Regions from separate parts of the Homo sapiens genome. Here region 1 is linked to region 2. The links are contacts of gene promoters, found by promoter capture Hi-C in human tissues and cell types (Jung and others, 2019). All regions are on one chromosome and are shown on one strand. The core of a region is centred on a gene start or on the middle of the fragment in contact, and the rest is flanking DNA. Distances in the headings are between cores, read along the strand shown. Region 1 overlaps PDE2A (phosphodiesterase 2A). Region 2 holds the start of PDE2A (phosphodiesterase 2A).

Region 1 (3,594 bases), core at 686-3,185, 54 kb after region 2:
TTATGGCCACATAATATTCCAGTGTATGGACAGACCACATCCATCCAACACCAGACACTTGGGTTGCTTTCACATTTTAGCTATTGTGAGTAATGCTGCTATGAACATAAGTGTACAAATATCTCTTCAAGATCCTGCTTCCAATTCTTTCAGATGTATACCTAGAAGTACGCTTGCTGGATCACACAGTCATTCTATTTTTTGGTTTTTGAGGAACTGCCATACTGTTTTCTGTATCTTTTTACATTCCCACGGACAGTGTACAGGGGTTTCAGTTTCTCCACATCCTTGCCAACATGTGTTATTTTCTGTTCTTTTTTTTCTTTTATTTTTTAATGGTAGCCATCCTAATGGGTGTGGGGTGACATTTCATTGTGGTTTTGATTTGCATTTCCCTAATGATTAGTGAAGTTGAGCATCTTTTCATGTGCTGGTTGGCCACTTGTATATCTTCTTTGGGAAAATGTTGATTCAAGTCCTTTGCCCATTTAAAACATTGGGTTGTTTGCTTTTTTGTTGTTATTGAATTGCAGGGGTTCTTTATATATTCCAGATATTACCTCTTTATCAGATAAAAGCTTTGCAAATATTTTTCTCCCATTTCATAGGTTGCTTCGCTGAAATATGTTAAAGCAAATCCCAGACATGATGTCATTTCACCAAAGGTAGACTTTTTTTTTGGTGGGGGGAGCTTTCCGGTGAAGACTGAAAAACCTGCTAGACAAATTCTAAAATAGATGTGACTTTGGATTTTTGTTTTTTAAGGCTAGGAGGTCCTGGATGATGCTGAAATGTAACAGTGACACAGAGCCAGTGTGGAACTGTGTCTGATGCTGTGTGAGGGTGACATGGTGGCTTTGGGAACATGGGTGCAACACTGAAGATATGGGAGACTCCAAGTGAGGGTGACAGTGAGAGATCACTGTGTGTGTGGCCCTGTGACACCCAGTGACATGGGACAGTGGGACGCTGTGGACCCTGAAATGACTGTGTGTCACCGAGCAGGTGGGACCTGCTGTGTGAAGGCCACAGGTGTCATGTCTTCTTGTGTCATCCTGGTTGATGAGTGTGACACAGTGCAGGACTCTGCATGGGAGTAAGAGGGACTGAAGCTGTGCTATAGGTGACCGGGCTGCATGTGATTCAAGTGGGCTCAGCCCCAGCTTCAGCTGCTGAGTATGGGAGGGAGCATGGACATTGTAGGGTAGATGAGGAGAAACACTGAATGGGAACAGAAATGGTGTCTGTGCCCAGATGCGAGCTCCTCCCTTCTCTGAATACCCAGGAAGGCTTCCTGGAGGCAGGATGTGGGCACTTCAGCAGGATGTTGTAGGTGCTGATTAAGAGCAGGGCCTGTGGTGTCAGACAGCCCTGTCTAGGCTCTGACATTCAGCAGGTCATTTTATCTCTTGAGCCTCAATTTCCTCAAGTATAAAATGGGAGCTCTTAGGAGGATTGCATGAAGCAGTGCTCCAATGCATGCAGTCTCTGGCACTTGGTAAATACTCTATGGTCTCTTGGGGAGCAGCAACCTCAACACCTGCACCCCAGGTCCCCAAATAACAGGAGCACCAGTAGGAGCACAGTGAAGGTGCGCTGAGTGAGGTGTCCTCTTACACCCACAGCCCTCCTCTCTCCCTCTCCCCCAACTTCTGTCCCCTGCTTGGTGTTGTCAGCGATACCCCCTCCTGCCCACTCACTCCTGCCCCCTCCTCTCCCCTGCCGTCCTTACCACTGTCAGCCTCCAGCCCAGGCTCCTGCAGCCTCATCCAATTAGGCCAATGCAATTTGCTCAAGAAAAAGCCCCATAATTTGGTTAATCACACCAGTAGGGGATCTGGTCCCGGTCGGGAGGGTGGGGGTGGATAGGAGTCCATACCCGCAGCTGAGGCACAGGTGTCAAAGTGCCTGTCTTTTGGGACCTTTACCCACTTCCTTGGGCTCCTTTCAGGAGCCAACAGAGTCCAAAGCTTGGGTCTTCTCAAACCCAACTACAGAGGCCTTGAAACAGGAGTCTGGACTTCCTGGGTTCGCTTGTGTTCCTGGGAGGGTCCCTGCTACTCTCTGGGCCTCAGTCTCCCTTTCCAAAAATGGGAGTGGAACTGGGGAGTCTCAGAGGCCCCAGTTGGCCTAGCTCTGCATCCCAGCTCTGGTCAGTCCCCCTTGTGGCTTCTGAGGGGCCTTCTCCTGGGCCTTGGGGAGGGAGCACTGAGGGGTAGGTGGAGAGCACAGGGCCCCAGGGAAGTGAGGAGGGGTAAGTGTCCTCTGAGTCTCATCTGGAATGTGTCTACCCCAGTCCTATAATCAGAGACCCTCTAGTTCCAGGCTGCACACCTGAAGGTGGGGCAGGAAGAAAGGAAGCTGCCCTTTCTTGGTCACCTGCAAGGCCAAAGTCTCTTAACCGTGCAGGCTATACCTTGCACAGGAGCTCCAGCAGAGGTGGGGTGGTGCTGAAACTGAGCCCACTCTCCCTCACCAAGCCTTTCCCCTCAGGCCCGCATCTGCCCAGAGAATTGGGGTCCCTCCTTTCTAATGTGCACACAGGTGGCCCCAGCCCCCTGCTGGGAGTCAGCTTAGGCAAGGTTTGATGGCTCAGCTTAATCTTCTCAGCAGCTCTGGGGGAAGAGACCATTTTACGGATGAGGAACTGAGCCCAGGAAGGTCCAAAGACTTGTCCAGTACATGTGGTGTGTGGCAGGGCAGGCAGATGAGCCCGCATCTGAGGGAGGCGATGGGAGAAGTGACAGGGGTGCGCAGAGGAGGAGAATTAGACCCTCTCAGATTCCACCACTCTCAGCCACACGTTCACTCACTCATTTGGAGACAAGACTAACCACCAGCGCATTCACAGCACCCCAGACAGCCACATACTGACTATACCACTGTCACATGGACATCAATGACCTGAATCACATATGCATAGATGCAGGCCCACATGGTCACTCCCACGTGCAGATGGCCAGTGCACACACATAGACACAGGGTACTCACACATGTTTACACTCTCACGACCCATGTGGGTTACAGATTCCTACAGAGACACAGACCTACATACTTTCACAAGGAAATTCTCCCAGTGACCCAGGGAACATAGTCTGCCATGATGATGTGATGGTCCGTAGGGGCTCGCCACTATGGACCATTAATGGGCAGGCTGCACACATGCTTAGGTCCCCAGCAAAGCGGGAGTTCTGCACAGAGTGAGAGGAGAGGTCAGTTCTGATGAGTGTATCCAGAATTTTGCAATCAGAAAAACCACACAAAAACTATTTTAATTTTCATTTCCAAGATAAAATTTAGTTTGAATTGTATAGAGGGTCCGAGGGTCTGGTGGGAGGGCATCATCATCTTTTCAAGGCTTTGGGGTTCTAAGGCACCCACAGATTCACAACAGTCCCACAAGATATCCCAGGCTGACATATTTACCCAGCCCAGTGTGTGCGTGTGTGTGTGTGTGTGTGCGCACGCTGTGTGCATGCTCATGCTGGCTCCCAGATCCTCGGGATGTGAGGAAGGAAAGTAGGAGAGATTCCAGAGACTCCGGATGTTTGTTCTCTGGCTTCCTGGGCCCTTCAAAGGAAAATAACTCTGGAT
Region 2 (4,032 bases), core at 383-2,882:
TGGCTCAGCTGCTTTACAACCAGCCTGGGCCTCGTTCCCTTTGAGAAAATGGTTTGCCCAGAGTTCAGAGATCTAAAATTCTATGATGCCTTCTGGGGCCACAGTGGGAAGCAAAGACTCCTCATATTTTCTTTCCTGACACTTCCCAGGCCACAAGACAACTGCTTTCTGCAGCACCCAGCCTGGGCAGGCCATCTACACAAGCTCAGTCATTTCTGACCTTGCCCCCTCCACCGTGCACCCCCATGTTCTTCAACATGGGTCAGGTTTCTATTCAGCCTCAGGGACTTCTCTGCTTGAAGCCTGTTGTGTGGCGGGGAGGTATTCTCCCCACAGCTCAGAGAGATGGGGTTGCTGTGGAGGGTTTGCTGTAGCTCCTCTACCCTGGAATATACCCTCTTCTGCCTTAAAAGACCCAGCTTGGACCCTCTCTTCCAGAAATGCTTGCTAACCGCCCCCCCACCACCCAAACTAGGTCAGGGGTCCCTCTGGGCTTCACAGACCCTGTGCTTCTTTCTGTCACAGCCTGCAAGTCTCCCCTCCCCACTCCCCAGCCCGAGTGCTTCTCTGAGACAAGGGATAGTGTGAGCCATGAGCTCAGCCACTGGTAGGCCAATGAATAAGTAAGTTAATGGTGAAGCCAGGATCCAAATCCCCATTTCCTGCCTCAAGGTGTGGAGCTGTTTCTCCTGCATACAATAGTAGCTCTGCTGTGACAACTCTCTATCTGTCCTAGGGCCTAAAATGCCTCTATTTCACTAGGTTATAGCTTTATCCTAGGGAGTCCTCTTTGGAAGCAGGGTGGGGGTGCAACAGGCCTTCCCCCATGCCTGTAGTCTGTGAGCAGCGAAGGCCATGTGGGGCAGGCTGTGGCCTAGGTCTCCACAGATCCTGGTAGAAGTCCATGCTCACGCATCAGCTCCAAGTCCCAGCTAAACCAAGCCACCAAGAGGTGGGCCCTGTGACAAGGCTCTGAGTCCAAAGGCCATCAGTAAAGCCCCCTAAGTCTTCCGTGGACCCAGCTCCAGGCTGGGATGCACGCTAGGAGATGATACACACCGGGTGAGGGAGCCCAGAGGAGAGGGCAGCTAGCTGTGCATGGAGGCCTGATCTCTCAGACTTGAGGGCACAAGCGTGTCCCCTCATCCTGAAGGCTTCTGCGATGGGGCAGCAGAGGGTCTGGGTCTGCTGCCCCTCAAGTCCCCAGCCCCATCCTAGCCCATGAGGATTGTAAATCCCTCGTCCTCTCCCCTCTCTCCTCTGTCAGCCACTCCCCTTTCCCCCTACCCCACTCTCTTTCTATTTCTGCCTCTGATTTTTTTTCCTTTTCTGCCTTTGTTCCTCTGTGTGTGTGTTTCTCTATGCCTCTCTGGTCTCTTTGTACTTCCATCTTGATCTCGCTAAGGCTCTGATCCCTCTCTCCTCTCCCTCTTCATGTGTTACTGTCCCCCTTCCTGTCTCTGTTTATCTCTCAGTCTCTCTGTCTGTGAGTCTTTTTTCCTCTCTCCCAGTCAGACTCTCTCTCTACCCCTCCCTCTCTCCCTCTCTCCCTCTCTGTCTGGGCCTCTCTCTGTTCCTCCTCCCTCCTCCCTCCCCCTTCTGCATTATCAGACCTGCTCCAACCTCCTCCCAGAGCCAGCCGAGCAGCAGAGGCAGTGGCAGCGGGAGAGGCGGGAGCAGCGGGGCAGCAGAGCTGGATTGGGGTGTTGAGTCCAGGCTGAGTAGGGGGCAGCCCACTGCTCTTGGTCCCTGTGCCTGCTGGGGGTGCCCTGCCCTGAACTCCAGGCAGCGGGGACAGGGCGAGGTGCCACCTTAGTCTGGCTGGGGAGGCGGACGATGAGGAGTGATGGGGCAGGCATGCGGCCACTCCATCCTCTGCAGGAGCCAGCAGTACCCGGCAGCGCGACCGGCTGAGCCGTGAGTATAGTGAGGGGCTGGGGTGGTGAGCGGCTGTGAGAGGTGCCACAGACAGGGTCCTGGGAGTCCCTCCAAGGAGCTGGGGTTGGCATGGAGCTGAGCCACGTGGAAGGATCGATCCTGTTCCTGGGCACCCCTCCTCCCCGCGTTGCCAGACTGCAGCCTGGGGTGGGGGCAGGTTACCTCTGAGCAGAATGAGGGTGTCTAACGTCAACCTAGTAGGTGATGAGGCTGGGGTCCCATGGAAGGGGCTGCTGGTTGGAGGAGGGGCTGATAATGAACCTGAACCGGTTCTTCAAGGGCTGAGGGTGTATGTGGGGAGGGGGAGGTCTGCCAAGTAGTTGGGAGGAGCTCTCGGGGCTGCAATAGGCTGGTTCAGGACCCGGAGAGGGAGAGTGTCTTGGCCCACCAAGGCTATGTGTGTGTGAAGGAGGTGGGGAGGGGGAAAGATGGAGAAAATATGAATAAGAGTGGCCCTGGAGCAAGAGAGGGTTAGAGGTAACCACCTTCCATGGAATTGGGAATTGGGGTTCAGGGACACCACTTTATGAAACTTTACCCCAAAGCGTCTGTCCCAGGATAGGGTTCTACGGAGCCAGATGGAATATGGTGCCAGCCTCGTGTGTGTCCACGTGCAGGGGGGTGCATGTGCAAGTGAGTGGGGGGCGCCGTGGCGACACCCCTCTACTAAGGGCTGCCGAGGTGGTAGGCAGGGTATGTGTGTGTGTGTGTGTGTGTATACATGTGGAATGTAAGGGACATGTTGGGTGTAGAGGGGCCTGTAGAGCTCTAGGGTCCTTGGTGGTTGGATGTAAAGCAGCCTGTCAGAGTTTGTGATCATCCCTGTGTGAGTGAGAGTTTATTCGCATGTGTCTGAGTGTGAGTGCAGGTTGGTCTGCATATGTATGTAGGTGTGTCTATTAGGTTGAGTTTGTATATTATGTGTGTTGTGTCTGCAAAATAGAGTGAATCAGTGTGCATTTTTTATCTGTTCCATGTGCATTTATGTGTGTGTATTTGTTAGTGTGTGAATAATAGCATTGCTGTGTGTGGAGGTGGATGTGGCTGTGTGCGTATAAGTATTCTGGTGTGGGTGTGTGATCATGGTGCTAGTGTGTATATCGGTGCTTCTGTGGCTGGTGTGTGTGTGTATCTATATGTGTGTATTCATCTGAGTGTGTGTGGGTGGCTGTTTCCTTCCCCTGGCAATTGAGGATACAGCTGGGACACCATGGCCCACTGATGCAGGGCAGGGAGGGGCTGAATGTATGACCGCCTCTTTGAACTCAGGACAATTCATTCTACACCCTGTGGGAAAGATGCAGAAAAGAAATAGGCAATAATGACTCTGCCCTCTGGGGCTTCCTAAGCTTCTTAGACATAAAATAGCTTGAGAATAATTAAGCAGTAGAGATCAACGTCATGCTAACAGGTGGGGGTGGGGTGGGAACTGCATAAGCAAAGGCCCTGGGCTGGGCATGTCCTGGAGCAGTGAAGACACTGTATAGAGTGGGGGGCAGGCAGGACCCACATTCAATAGAACTTTAAGATCCAGGACTCTTAGGCTTTATCCAGAGAGCCCTGGGGAGCCCAGAAAGGTTTTATATAGGGGAGAGACATGATCAGATTTGGGTTCTAGAAACCTGCCCTGGGCCAGGCATGGTGGCTCATGCCTGTAATCCCATCACTTTGGGAGGCAGAAGCAGGTGGATCACTTGAGGCCAGGAGTTTGAGACGAGACTGGCCAACATGGTGAAACCCAGTGTCTATTAGAAATACAATAAAATTAGCTGGGTGTGGTGGCACACGCCTGTAGTCCCAGCTACTTAGAAGGCTGAGGCATGAGAATATGAGAATCGCTTGAACTTGGGAGGTGGAGGTTGCAGTGAGCTGAGATTGCCTTACTGCACTTTAGCCTGGGGGTGACAAAGTGAGACTCTGTCTCAAAAGAAGAAAAAAAAAAAGAAGAAGAAAAATAAAGAAACCTGCCTCGGTGGCATTGTCTGGGTTGAACTGGAAGAGAGAGGTGGGGCCAGGAGGCTAGAGTGGAGGCCAAGCCAATACAGGGGTCAGTGAGTTCTGGAGCTTTTTGAGAACTTGGGAAAGGCTGGATAG

The links. The method cuts DNA at HindIII sites, captures the fragments that hold promoters and counts their contacts. A contact is called where the count stands out against the background at its distance.
Region 1: a fragment that was not itself captured here is called in contact with the fragment with the promoter of PDE2A in region 2 in 8 of the 25 tissues and cell types used here (adrenal gland, dorsolateral prefrontal cortex, heart right ventricle and 5 more).

Annotation. Positions count from the first base shown.
Region 1 is chr11:72,618,920-72,622,513 of GRCh38, reverse strand. All of the region lies in intron 2 of PDE2A (phosphodiesterase 2A), which reads left to right. LOC105369377 (a long non-coding RNA gene) reads right to left here. Exons shown (of 4, transcript XR_001748292.2): 4 at 3,325-3,570. It also overlaps the pseudogene RNU7-105P. Among named protein-coding and RNA genes, the nearest start is that of MIR139, 5.6 kb to the right of the region's middle. The HindIII fragment of the contact is 3,656 bases long and covers 108-3,594 here.
Region 2 is chr11:72,672,022-72,676,053 of GRCh38, reverse strand. It overlaps PDE2A (phosphodiesterase 2A), which reads left to right and starts at 1,632. Exons shown (of 31, transcript NM_002599.5): 1 at 1,632-1,917. The coding sequence starts at 1,847. RefSeq lists enhancers at 1-408, 559-1,183, 1,184-1,810, 1,811-2,436, 2,437-3,063. The HindIII fragment of the contact is 13,863 bases long and covers 1-4,032 here.